Linked DNA regions of Homo sapiens: region 2 is linked to region 1. The links are contacts of gene promoters, found by promoter capture Hi-C in human tissues and cell types (Jung and others, 2019). All regions are on one chromosome and are shown on one strand. The core of a region is centred on a gene start or on the middle of the fragment in contact, and the rest is flanking DNA. Distances in the headings are between cores, read along the strand shown. Region 1 holds the start of GJC1 (gap junction protein gamma 1). Region 2 overlaps LOC107987243 (a long non-coding RNA gene).

Region 1 (6,863 bases), core at 1,995-4,494:
TGTAATCCCAGCACTTTGGGAGGCCTAGGCGGGTGGATCACGAGGTCAGGAGTTCAAGACCAGCCTCACCAACATAGTGAAAACCAGTCTCTACTAAAAATACAAAAAAAATTAGCCGGGCGTGGTGGTGTGCGCCTGTAGTCCCAGCTGCTTGGGAGGCTGAGGCATGAGAATCAGTTGAACCTGGGAGGCGGAGGTTGCAGTGAGCCGAGATCATGCCACTGCACTCCAGCCTGGGTGATGGAGAGAGACCCGGTCTCTCTCTCTCTCTCTCTCACACACACACACACACACACACACACACACCCTCAATACCCTAGAACAATTGTTTTTATGCTTAGGTTCAATGCAGAATGGACAAGCAGAATGTGATCAGACAAAAGGGGTATGATCTAATTTAACAGACTGAGCGGGGAACCCAACAAGGCTTGTCGGTTCAAATTCTTCTTGGCTTCCCAGTGTAACATTCCTTCCTCCAGGGTATTCCTTCCTGGTTCCTCTGGAATGAGGGTCTTCAAGGGGGAGGAGAGAAGGGGGAGAGTGACCTTTCTGGTTTTATGGCTTGCTTTGGGGGAGAGGGGTTCTAGTTTCTATGACCCGCCTTGGGGAAGAGGAATTTTTATTTCTATGACTCGCTTCAGGGGAGAAAGGGGCGGGAGACAGGAGGGCAGGAGAAGGTCAGAGAGAGACTTTGCTTCTGAGGCCTTCCAATCTCCTTTAGTTCAAAGCACTCAGCACGCCAAAGCTCCATACTTTGGGATATTGTTTTCTTTCTTTCTTTTTTAAAGAGATGGGGTCTCGCTCTGTCTTCCAGGCTGGAGTGTAGTGGCATAATCATAGCCCACTGCAGTTTCCTGAGTAGCTGGGACTACAGCCACCACGCCCTGGGAAATCATTTTCTGAGCCTCAACAGTAGATATTGCCAGTTTTGCAAAGTCCGCTGGGCACGGTGGCTCATGTCTGTAATCCCAGCTCTTTGGGAGGCCAAGGCGGGCAGATCACTTGAGGTCAGGATTTGAGACCAGCCTGGCCAACATGGTGAAACCCCCTTTCTACTAAAAATACAAAAATTAGCCAGGCATGATGGCGGGCACCTGTATTCCCAGCTACTCCGGAGGCTGAGGTAGTAGAATCTTTTGAACCTGGGAGGCGGACATCGCAGTGAGCCGAGATCACCCCACTGCACTCCAGCGTGGGCGACAGAGTGAGACTCTGTTGCAAAAACAACAACAAAGTGATTTAGGCCAGGCACGGTGGCTCATGCCTGTAATCCCAGCACTTTGGGAGGCCGAGGCAGGCGGATCACAAGGTCAGGAGATCGAGACCATCCTGGCCAACATGGTGAAACCCTGTCTCTACTAAAAATACAAAAATTAGTTGGGCGTGGTTGCGTGCGCCTGTAGTCCCAGCTACTCGGGAGGCTGAGGCAGGAGAATTGCTTGAACCGGGGAGGTGGAGCTTGCAGTGAGCCTAGATGGCGCCCACTGCACTCCAGCCTGGCGACAGAGTGAGACTCTCCCTCAAAACAAAACAAAACAAAAAAGTTATTTGTACTAGTTTACAGTTGCAGGCTGTGAGAATTTTAATATTTTATTCAACAGGTACAATGATGTTGTTTCCTGTGTTATTTTAGTTACATGCTATTTATTATTTCCAGGTATTTTCAGAGTTTTCACCCTGGTCATTTTATTTTTTTCACTTATTTTTTTGAGACAGGGTCTCACTCTGTCGCTCAGGCTGGAGTGCAGTGGCGCTATCTCAGCTTACTGCAGCCTTGACCTCCCGGGCTCAAGCGATCCTCCCACCTCATGCTTGGAGTAGCTAGGATCACAGGTGCGCGTCACCACACCCGGCTAATTTTTGTATTTTTTGTAGAGATGGGGGTTTTGCCATATTGTCCAGGCTGGTCTGGAACCCCAGGGCTCAAGCAATCCGCCTGCCTAGGCCTCCCAAAGTGCTGGAATTACAGGCGTGAGCCACCGCGCCCATCCCACACTTGTCATTTTAAATACATCTGTAGAGAGGCAATGTGATAAGGCGTGGGGACAGACTACAGCAATCACAGGGAGAAGTACTTAAATGCTCCGAGGCCAAGCAGGTCATGAAATGATTTAAGCAGCTGAGTGGGGACATTGCCTACCCGGACAAGGTGACTCAAGAGGAGCTGCCATGTGAAAAGAGAAGCTCAAAGTAAGCAGCTTTTGACTTTTTAGGGAGGCCAGAAATCTGGATTTTAATATTTTGGTAACTAATTCATATTTTTGGAAAACATACTGGCCACACAAAACTGGTCAGTGCATTAGATGCCTAGCCTTCAAGATTTCCACTCTGGGGCTACCCCTTAGGGCTTGGCTTTGGGTGGGGGAGTTTGACTTGCAGCAAGTAACCTCACTTGTTAGCGCTTAATTTCCCCTCTGGTCAAAAGGGCAAAATAATAAAAGCCTGTCCATCGGCATTCTGATGCTCAGATGAGATCATTCCAGAGGTCGCCCATCTCTTTACTGAGCCTTCCTTTATTACCCAAAGTCTTACTCTACTTAAAGCATTTGGAGAATTTTCGGTTTCCTACTGGGCATTTTAAAACTGGGGATTCCTATGCATGAAAATTTTTCCCAAGTCCTCTGAATGGGATCCTGCTGGGATGCAAAGAGTTAAGAGGAAATAGCCTATTAGGGTCTTGCTAATCCGAGAAGTTCAGGACCTGAAAAGTATCTAGAGCACTGCTAAGAGCCCCGACTCTAGCTAGATCCACGCAGGGCCCGCCAGATCCTCGAGGAATTGTAGAGCAGAACCTGGGAGGAGACATTAGCATCCCGTGCTACAATGGACCAAGGCCTCGGCGGAGCGCGCAGAAGACAACTCTGGGCCCGCTAAACCAACCCAGGATACCCAGGTAAGGCGAGAACCCACGGCGCCGTTAGCGGCCCGCTCAAACTGAGGCGCGGCTGGCGGGGGACTCTCGCCCGAAAATCAGCTTGGAAGAATGAACTGTCCGGAGCGAAGTCTGCGCCCACCCGGGGTCCAGACTCCACGCGGGTGACTCCCACGCGCGCCGCGCCTCCGCCGCGTCCCGGACTATCCGAGAGAGCGGCGAGGACTCGACCGCGGAAAGTTGGCGCTCGCGTCGCTTCCCGCGCGTTCTGGGGCGCCCCCCTCCCACTCGAGCGCCACGTGCCGCGCGCCCCCCGCTCCCGGGCCGCGGCGGGACGCCCCCGCCCCCACCGCAGCGCGCAGTGCGCAGGCGCCTTCCCGCGGGTCGCGGCGGCGGGAGCGGGAGGCGGCGGCGGCGGCGGCAGCGGCGGGAGCGGCTTCTGCCTCGGCTGGAGACTGAGGCGAAGGCGGCAGCGGCGGAGGAGGTGGAGGAGAGGCGAGGGTGAAGGCGATGGCGACGCGGGGCACATGAGGCCGCGACCGGCGGGACGGGCCGAGGCCCGGCGGAGGAGGCGGCTCCGGGGGAACCCGCCGCCGGGTGAGGGGCGGCCGCAGGGCCGGCTGAGGAGAAGCGGGCCAGGGGCGGGGTCCCAGGGGGAGGCGGGAGAACTCTTGGGGAGCCCGGGGAGGGGCCGAGGAGAACCTCCGGAGGTCCGGGGAGGAGCGCGGCCAGAGCGGGAGAAGGAGGGGGGCGCCGCCGAGGGGTTCCCGCCGAGTCCGGAGGGGCGTCGCCGGCCCGCGTCCTGCCACTGTCCCCGGCGCACCCTCCCTCTTTGTCCCCAGGCGCGCGGCTCCCAAATCGGGAGGGAAACGGCTCGGGGGTGTCCTGGGCCGCGGAGGTGTCGGGCGACGGTCGGGGAGCCCGGACAGAAGCGGCGCGCACTCGGCGGCGCCCCGGCGGTGCCGACAACTACCCGGGCGGTTAGGGGCGCAGGGCGGAGCCGGGCCGCCCCTCGCCGCCCGGGCTCTTCGCGGGCTGCTCTTTGTCTCCCCGACCTCGATCCCTGCGTCTCCGGCGGCGTGCGGGCTCGTCTGAGGCTTCCCGCATCTCCCCGCTGGAACTCCTGCCTCCCGGGGGTTAGAGGAGGGTTCGTTCGAGGGCTGGAAGCGGGAAAGCGGGGCGGAAGGACTGGGCTCATCGCCTCCTGATTAACTCGTTGTCTTTACTTAAAATGACTTTTCCCCCACTTTGTCAAACTTGAGAACTGTTTTGTGTGTGTGTGTGTTTCCTTAAGTCTCTAGCTTCAAAATTAAGAGTAGGCGCTACCGCTGTGATTGTGGGCAGTTGTGTGGTTGGCGGCTGCGTTTGGAGCTCTGAGTTGAAAAGATGTACGTGAATGTATGGTTTAGATTTTGTTCTTTTTTTTGCGATTGTCTGATTGGGAGTACTTTTCCTTTGCGAAATGGGCGAATTTGGTTTTCTTTTTGTTCATTGAGAACTGGCAGTGATACCGATTTCATTATGCTCATGCTTAATTTTGTTAGCATCAAGACGATGTGAAATCGAGTAAGTTAAGTTTGAATAAGTTCAGGCTGAGGGTCATCTTGTATGCCTGATAAGTCTAAATTTGTTATATGTTTGTGTCGTGTATACGTTCAAGTGAATATATGTGAAAGCGCTATAAAAAATCAAACTACATAAATGAAAGGGATTTTAATTTCCTGATAAGCAGGAAACAGCATATCTCCAGTACTTTAATATCTGTAGAAAAATGCGTTAATAATGTCATTTAGGAATAAAATATTTCTCTCCCTAGAGAGGGTTTAGGTATTATTCAGAGTAAAAGAGCAAAAAAATTTCAACCTCAGAGGGTATGGAAAAAAACAGAAAAATACCCTTACTTCCAGAGCTCCTGATTAAAATATTGTGAGTTGTGGGTTAAGTTTACTGATTTAAAAAAAACTTAGCATAGAGTTGTATCACTGCAGTTGCTTTGAATGTCTTAAGTACTGTGTAATGTCAGAATTAAACACGAACTAACTTTTCTGGGTAGAAGGTAAAAAGCTCCAATAAACAGATCTTAGTTTTCCCCAGATTTTTGTGCCCAGAGTGCTGTAGGCAAAGGGCATATTGAAGAGATACATAGAAGTTGTATGGAAGGTCTGTTAATATTTGTCCTGATTTGTAATGGCTTAATATTATTTACTACTTAAACTGTTGTGCATTTTTCCAAAGCATTTCAAACAACCTCTTCAAAAGCCAGCACTTTTAACTTTTGAGGTTGTGTGACTTAAGAATTGTTTTCTACCAGAAACAGTTCTCTTAAAAAGTTCTACCACAGTTCTCTTAAAAAGGAGCAAAGGACCTGGTAATTTTCTCTGTAATCAATTCATGCAGGTAAAATTGAGTTTTAGCCTTTAATCCAGAGGACTTAATTAACATATCTCCAGCATAACAATCTTACTTATAAATGCTGTTATCCTTTGTCAATTAAATTTTATTCTTATATTTGTATAAGTCAGCCAAAGGGAAGGAATGCAGGGTTGTGTTTCTGATTAGTCCACTTCCCCCCAGGTCCAGGCTTGCCTATCAATTGAGTAATGAGGATCTTAGAATACAGGATATATAATTTAAATCCAGAGCATCGTTCTCTTAACAAATGCTTAGTGTTTGTTCCATGCCTAATTCAATGCAAAGTGATGAGTTCCAAAAAATATTGCTTTATTTGTTGTATGTTCACATTTCAAAATTGGTGAGGTGTGTTCTTTTTTCTTTTTCCTTTTCCTTTTTTTTTTGAGATGGAGTCTTGCTCTGTCGCCCAGGCTAGAGTGCAGTGGCTGGGACTACAGGTACCCGCCACCACGCCTGGCTAATTTTTTTTTGTAGTTTTAGCAGAGATGGGGTTTCACCATGTTAGCCATGATGGTCCCGATCTCCTGACCTTGTGATCCTCCCGCCTCGGCCTCCCAGAGTGCTGGGATTACAGGCGTGAGCCACCGTGCCCGGCCATCCTTTTTTTTTTCAAAGACATTGCTATGATGCCCAGGCTGTCATAGTACACTGCAGCCTCAAATTCCTGGGCTCAAGCCATCCTCCTGCCTCAGCCTCCTGAGTATACCCAGCTAATTTCTTTTTTCTCCTCCTTTCCTGTCCTGTCCTGTCCTTCCTTCCTATAGTTAAGTTTGACTAGGGGGTATGATTACTTATTTCTGAACTTATGCTTTTCTTGTAGTGTAGAAATACATGTGGCTTCTGTTCAAAATATTTGATAAAAATTTAGGCAAAGAAAAAGCAGGAATTTTTTTTTTTTGTTTGTTTGTTTTTGAGACGGAGTTTAGCTCTTATTGCCCAGGCTGGAGTGCAATGGTGCTATCTTGTCTCACTGCAACGGTGCTATCTTGTCTCACTGCAACCTCCGCCTCCCGAGTTCAAGTGATTCTCATGCCTCAGCCTCCCAAGTAGCTGGGATTACAGGAATGCCCCACCATGCCCAGCTAATTTTGTATTTTTTAGTAGAGACGGGGTTTCACCATGTTGGTCAGGCTGGTCTCCAACTCTTGACATTAGGTGATCCGCCTGCCTCTGCCTTCCAGAGTGCTGGGATTACAGGTGTGAGCCACCGCACTCGACCAGATTATTAGTTTTGTAAGACCGTTCCTTTGAGAATAGGTATGAGAAGATAGATTTTGGCTGATATCGTTAACCTGAAATTTAGACATAGAAAACAGTTCTGAGCTGTTAATATCAGCTGAATGGCAACAGTTGTTTTTCAACATACTGCTACAGCTGATGAGTTCAGTTTGTGTTGAAATAAGAACCTAGTAAAATGTATTTTTAAAAATATTTTTTAAGATTTAAATACAAATAATTTTAAATACAAAAAACTAGCTGGGCGTTTGAGCATTGCTATTTACTGCAACTCTAAAGAGTGAATGACCTGTTAGTCAGTACTGGCTGGCATACAGTTATACATTCTTGAATTTTACAAGTA
Region 2 (6,863 bases), core at 2,008-4,507, 170 kb before region 1:
GAAAACCAGTGCTGCCATCCCTCCTTCACTCATTAATTTCTGGGGAAGTATTAATTTCTGGGGAAGTATTAGCTGTCAGCAAGCAGCAGCCCTCCAATTCGAATTACAGAATTTGAATTCTTAATTTCTCCTAATCCATCAGTGAGCTGCCTTCCTGGGCTAATATTAGCAGCATTGGTGAAGCTTGTAACAGTCATTGATGTCTCCAGTCCTCTGAAAAAAGCCCTAATCAACAGAGCTGGGCCTGGGGCATGGGCCCCTAGAGGCAGGGACTCCGATCCCCACTCCCCAGCTGCCCCCAGTCTCCAGGAAGAGAGTGCAGAGTTTTACAAAGGTCCCTGGAGAGACGACAGAGAGAGAGAGAGAGAGAGAGAGAGAGAGAGAGAGCGCAAAGGAGAGGTGGGGAAGATGGAATCAGAGCCTGTGAGAGGCTTGGAACCAGGAAGAGAGGGAGAAAGGGGCTCAGGGAAAGACAAAATCAGTAAGACCAAAAGAGGTGGAGGCAGAGTGATGGAGAGACTGAGCCAGAGGCCCAAAGAGATGGATGGAGCCCGAGCTGGAGAGGAGGAAAGGAGCCTTTCAGAACGTAGAGTCAAAGCAACCCTCATTCAGACTCTGTGCAGGGAAAAAACACAGGAAAGCAAAACCAAAACCCTCCTGTGACTCCCAGGGTGTCATGGAAAGTGTGGTGTTCCACGGATTACATGGCCCCCATATCACTGGGCCCACCAGTTCACATTGCCTCTAGTTCTGGATCAGGCACCTTGTCTCAAATCACAGCTGAAAGACCTCCTCCGTCAGAAGGCCCTCTTGCTTTCTGTCCACCAGCACCATCTCTCTCTCTCTCTTTTTTTTTTTTTTGAGATGGAGTCTCATTCTGTCGCCCAGGCTGGAGGGCAGTGGCGTGGTCTCAGCTCACTGCAACCTCCGCCTCACGGGATCAAGCGATTCCTGTGTCTCAGCCTCCTGAGTAGCTGGGACTACAGGTGCGCACCACCAAACTCAGCTAATTTTTGTATTTTTAGGTAGAGACGGGGTTTCGCCATGTTGGCCAGGCTGGTCTCAAACTCCTGGCCTCAAATGATCCACCCGCCGCCTCAGCTTCCCTAAGTGCTGGGATTACAGGCATGAGCCACCGCACCCGGCCCACCAACACCATCTTTTCACTGCTGGGCAGTAACACTCTCTCCTGGTCAGCCACCCAGGTCCTGAAGACACTCTGTGCTGCTGCGTCTGTCTCCACGCAGGTGGGAAGAACGTGGGAGGCAAGCCGAGCACTATTTGTGCACTTCTTTTTATTTATTAATTTTTTTGAGACGGCCTCTCACTCTTTTGCCCAGGCCAGAGTGCAGTGGCACGATCTCAACTCACCGCAACCTCCATCTCCCGGGTTCAAGCAATTCTCCTGCGTCGGCCTCCTGAGTAGCTGAGATTACAGGCATCTGCCACCAGGCCCAGCTAATTTTTTTGTATTTTTAGTAGAGATGGGGTTTCTCCATGTTGGCTCGAACTCTTGATCTCAGGTGATCTGCCCACCTCAGCCTCCCAATATATGTCCACTTCTTATTTAATCTCTTCGACAGGGCCAAGAGGTACAGACTTTTTTTTTTTTTTTTTTTTTTTTGAGACGGAGTCTAGCTTTGTCACCCAGGCTGGCGTGTAGTGGCCCGATCTCGGCTCACTACAACCTCCACCTCCCTTGTTCAAGTGATTCTCTTGCCTCAGCCTCTCAGCCTCCCAAGTAGCTGGGATTACAGGCGTGTGCCACCACACGCGGCTAATTTTTGGTGAGACAGGGTTTCACCATGTTGGCCAGGCTGGTCTTGAACTTCTGACCTCAAGTGATCCACCCACCTCAGCCTCCCAAAGTGCTGGGATTACAGGTGTAAGCCACTGCACCCGGCTGGTACAAACTGTTATTACCCCCATTTAACACATAAGGAAACACACCTTAAGTCACTTGCCCAAAGTCATGGGGCAATGACATAGTGATTTTGGGATTTGAATCCCAGTAGGCTGACTCCAAAGCAAAGCACTTAACATCACGTTGGAGAATCTTGGGAAACCCCCGGGAGTTGTATATGGTGCAGTCCCCATCCTTGTTGAACTACCAAAGGTTGAAGGCCATGCCAGTCCTGCCCCATGACTTCCTCACATGACTCCAGTTCCATCAGCCAATCTTCTTACTAACATCCAGATAGCCTCGGACCCTCTGCCCCCATCCAGCCGACCCTGTCCCTCCCACCTGCCTTTCCATCTCTCTGAATCCAGGCCTTCACCTGGGCAGGCCCAGCTCAAGTCAGGCTTTCAGCTGGAAGCTTTTCCCCGCCTGCATCCCTAGCTCCATGGCCTGTCCCTCTCTGACCCAGTCTTTGTCCTTTCTGTGGATTTCCTGCCTCCTCAGCAAGTTCTGAGCCTCTCCATGCACAGCCAGGTGCCCTCTGAAGTCCTAGGACCCAGCTTTGCCCGGGCTTGTGCTCAGTAAATATTTGTGGACTTATCAACTGATTGATTGGTGAAGTGAAGACAGGAGACCTGGGACAAAGATGCCTGAGAACTCAGCAGTGTCCCTCTCAGCCTGGGCCCTGGGGAGGTGCTGGGGAGCCTGACACACACAGGTGAGGACTCCAGGCCCCAGCAGGTGTGAATGGCCAGGTGTTGGCACTCCCAGCTGCCTGCGGGTGACCCTGTCTCCCCAGGGTGGGAGGATTTGGGGATGTGTGGGGGGGAGAGGGAACTTGGGAAGTGAGTGCTTCAGGCTGCGCTGAAGTTCCCCTGGCCCCCAGGCTCTGCCCAGGCACCTAGGGCAGGAGGCAGACTCTAGGGTCTTCTCCAAGTTGAGATGTCTCTCCCCACTCCCTTTGCTGCTCCTGCTCCTCCCCTAGCCCCCACTGGAGAATCTGGGCCTGATAGAACTATTTTGGGCCAAACCTCTGAATTATGCATGGTCTGGCCAGTAAGCTGGCTCTTCCTGATCAGTGGCAGTGGGGGTTGGGGAGTAGAGTGATGGCTGCATTTCTCTTCCCGTGTAAGTGTCTGAGTTTGTGCAGGTGCCAGGCAGAGTGTGATGGGGTGGCATACATATGTTTGTGTAGACTTTGTGACTAAGGAATTGTGAATGTGCATGGGTCCACAAGTAGGAGCTATGGGGTCCCAGAGACTTTTTCCTTCTCTCTGAGGCTCCAGGATGGTGGGCCCCTGGGCTCAGTACCTTGTGGTTCCCAAATTTGTGTGTCTGGGCAGGATGGGCACAGGATGACTTAAGTCATCATCCTATTTCCATCCTGTCCCTGCCTTGCCTGCCCATGGGATCCTCAGGAGCTAGATGGACAGAAAAGAGATATCAACCTATCAGGGCCAGATCCAGGAGAGGGGAAAGAGAAGCCATTAACTGCCTGAAAATATTAGGTTGGTGTAAAAGTTATTGCAGTTTTTGTCATTGAAACTAATAGCAAATTACTTTTGCACCAGCCTAATAATAGCAGTAATGACCACTACGAGTTGAAGACCTCCTCTGGGTTTAGGTATTTTACATATATTAATTGAGTTAAATGTCACAACACTTCTATATGCTAGGTACTTTTAGACCCATTTTATTGATAAGGAAATGAAGGGTCAGAAAGACTAAGTACCTTGTTCAAGAGTGCACAACATGGAACTAATAGAATCAAGATTTTTTTTTCTTTCTTTTTTTTTTTTTGAGACAGTCTCACTCTTGTTACCCAGGCTGGAGTGCAGTGGTGCAATCTTGGCTCACTGCTAACTCTACCTCCCGGGCTCAAGTAATTCTACTCCTCAGCCTCCTGAGTAGTTGGGATTACAGGCATGTGCCACCATGCCCGGCTAACTTTTGTATTTTTAGTAGAGATGGGGTTTCACCATGTTGGGCCAGGCTGGTCTCGAACTCCTGACCTCAGATGATCCACCCACTTTGGCCTCCTAAATTGCTGGGATTACAGACATGAGCCACCATGCCCAGCCTAGAATCAAGATATAAACAACTAAGAAAATAAGGCAAGCCATATCCTGGGAGAAAATATTTGCAATACATATATCTGACAAAGAACTTGTATCCAGCAAACTCTTACAATTCAATAGGAAGAAGACAAACAATCCCATCGTAAAAGGGTCAAAAGAAGAGATAGGATGGCCAATATGTGCATGAAAAAAAATTCAGTATTATTCGTTATCAGGGAAATGCAAATTAAAACCACAATTACATACACTGCACAGCCATTGGAAGACTGACCATGGTAAGTGTTGATGAGCTTGTGGAGCAACTGGAACTCTCACATGCTGATAATGGAAATGTACAATGGTGCAACTACTTCAGAAAACAGTTTGTCAGTTTCTTGAAAAGTTAAGCATACAATAACCACAAGATTCGGTTATCCTACTCTCAGGTGTTTAACCAAGAAAAATGAAAATATATGTTTACTGAAAGACCTGTGTGTACACACATGCTCATGGTAGCTTCATTCACAGCAACTGAAACCCTGGAAACAAGACAAATGTCCATCAGCAAGTGGCCAGATTGTTGTATGTGCAAATAATGGGATACTTCTGAGCAACAAAAAGAATAAAGTACCACCATAAAAACAAGGATGAATCTCATCAACATTCTGCTCAGTTAAAGCAGCCAGAAACCAAGAGTACATATTACATAATTCCATTTATATGAAAATCCAGAAAAGACAAATCTAATCTATAGTGACAGAAAGCAGATCAGTGGTTGCCGGGGGCTGGGGGAAGGGTGGGGAACTACGGGGAAGAGGCACAGGGGAGCTTTTTGGGATGATGCAAATGCCCTATATCTTCATTGTAGTGGTAGTTATATGTGTCTATAAATTTGTCAAAACTCATCAAACTGAACACTTAAAATGTGTACATTTTATTGTATGTAAATTATACTTCAATAAAGTTGAAAAAAGAAACCAAGCAAGCTGAGCTGAACTCCACATTTGTAACTGTTATGCCCTGTGTGTCTCAAGGTAGTGGGAAGGGAGTCTTGGGCACCTGGGGCCCCTTTGAAGAAGAGAAAGCTTTACCATACATACAGGCAAGGCAACAAAGAGAGAGAGAGAGATCAAAGAAGAGAAAGGGTTGTGGTTCTTTGGAATTGACTACCCACCCCCAGTGGGAAGGAAGCATCCAGCTCCCCTCTGCCTTACTGGCCCCCACCACCCCAGGCTCTGTATGGCTTTCCCTCTAACCTGAGGGACTGAGCACCCATGGAAGTGTCTAGCCTCCTGCTGGGACCCCTCCCTGACCCCTCCTAAAGGCGACACCTTACAGCTTCCTCAACAGCATCATCCTGACTGGCAGATCAGGAACTCCTAGGGAGTCAATGTTTTGTTTCCCTCCACGAGGCCAAGCCTACCCCTGCTCATCCTCCTGGGAGCCTCTCCCGCTCATCATCCAGGGGACTAATATGGGCCTTGAGTGCAGCATGGGCACACTGCTCTAGGACAGGTTACCAAGCTTACCCACCCAGGGACCCTAAGGGTGTCCAGGAGGGGCTGGCTGGCCAGGCAGAAGGCCAGTGTGCTGGTGCTCCTGGCCCTTGGTCTCACTTGCTGCTGTCAATCACTGACGAATGCCTGTTAAGTGCTCGGCTTTGAGTTAAGCCCTATGCCTATGTTTCCTCTGTTAACCCTCCAGGCAGAGGCTCAACGAGGCCAGAGCTCTTCGTGCCATCATTTCACAGGTGAGGATGCTGAGGCACAGAGAAGGTAAGTAAAGTCACACAGCTAGCAGGTGGAAGGGAAGCTGACAGTAGCCAGTGCTTGCTGTTCATTTCCCAGCAATTCTTGCACCAGCTTCCCTTGAATCCCTTGGAGGGTTTTCTTAACAGTTCAGATTCCTGAGTCTGTGCTTTGTCCTTATCTCCTCTAGGCTCTCAGGGATCCATACCCTCTAGTCCCAGCTAAAGGATAAGCCCTGCCCCCTGCAGGGGCCTCTGGGCTGCGGCTCCCCTGGGCCAGCCCCAGTACTGAGCACTGGGCTCCGAGTGGATGGGCACAGTGCCAGTGCATCTGACTGAGTAGCATGGGCAGGGCTGAACTTGGTCAGGATCATCCAGGGTTGGGGGACCAGCAGGGAAATGAGATCTACAAATAGCAGCAAGTTGTTCATTGATTTCCATCCTGTTCAGAGGAGGCCTGGGACCAGCAAGAACAGGATTGGTTTTGAACTAAAGTGGGAAGGGCAGCTTAGTTTAGGGCAGGCAGGCAAAGTCAGGAAGCAGGATACCCAGGGCCCTGTGCCTCACGTAGGTACGAGGTCCTTGGCTGTGTCCTGTGGAAATGGTACCCCTCCTCTATCCACCTCTGGGGATGCACGTTCCTGGAAGATGGCCCCCAGCTCCACCTGGTATGACCTGCAAGTTAGGAAGGGCTGGGAAAATGCAAAAGTAAAAGGTTCCACTGCCAAAATTGCCTGCTTTTCTAAAATGGCCCATATTTCAAACATCTTGCCCTATCTCTCCCTTAAGCATACACAACCAATCATACCATATGCTCATATGTGGGGATCAGAAAAGAATCTTCATGCCTTAAAAGAGCATTTGAGGCCAGGCACGATGACTCACGCATGTAATCCCAGCACTTTGGGAGGCTGAGGCAGGTGGATCATTTGAGGTCAGCAGTTCAAGACCAGCCTGACTAACATCGTGAAACCCCGTCACTACTAGAAATATAAAAATTAACCAGGCATGGTGGTGTGTGCTTAGTCCCAGCTACTCGGGAGGCTGAGGCAGGAGAATCTCCTGAACCCAGGAGGCGGAGGCTGCAGTGAGCCGAGATCGCGCCACTGCACTCTAGCCTGGGTGACAAAGGGAGACTCCATCTCAAAACAATAAAACG

What was found. Contacts are between HindIII fragments. The study calls those that stand out against the background at their distance.
Region 2: a contact is called between a fragment that was not itself captured here and the fragment with the promoter of GJC1 in region 1, in 1 of the 25 tissues and cell types used here (spleen).

Annotation. Positions count from the first base shown.
Region 1 is chr17:44,826,668-44,833,530 of GRCh38, reverse strand. It overlaps GJC1 (gap junction protein gamma 1), which reads left to right and starts at 3,244. Exons shown (of 3, transcript NM_005497.4): 1 at 3,244-3,469. RefSeq lists enhancers at 1,639-2,612, 2,613-3,586 and a silencer at 3,642-3,931. The HindIII fragment of the contact is 21,747 bases long and covers 1-6,863 here.
Region 2 is chr17:44,997,056-45,003,918 of GRCh38, reverse strand. It overlaps LOC107987243 (a long non-coding RNA gene), which reads left to right. Exons shown (of 6, transcript XR_007065771.1): 3 at 5,662-5,707. Among named protein-coding and RNA genes, the nearest start is that of C1QL1, 32 kb to the right of the region's middle. RefSeq lists enhancers at 1-324, 5,747-6,499. The HindIII fragment of the contact is 4,011 bases long and covers 1,252-5,262 here.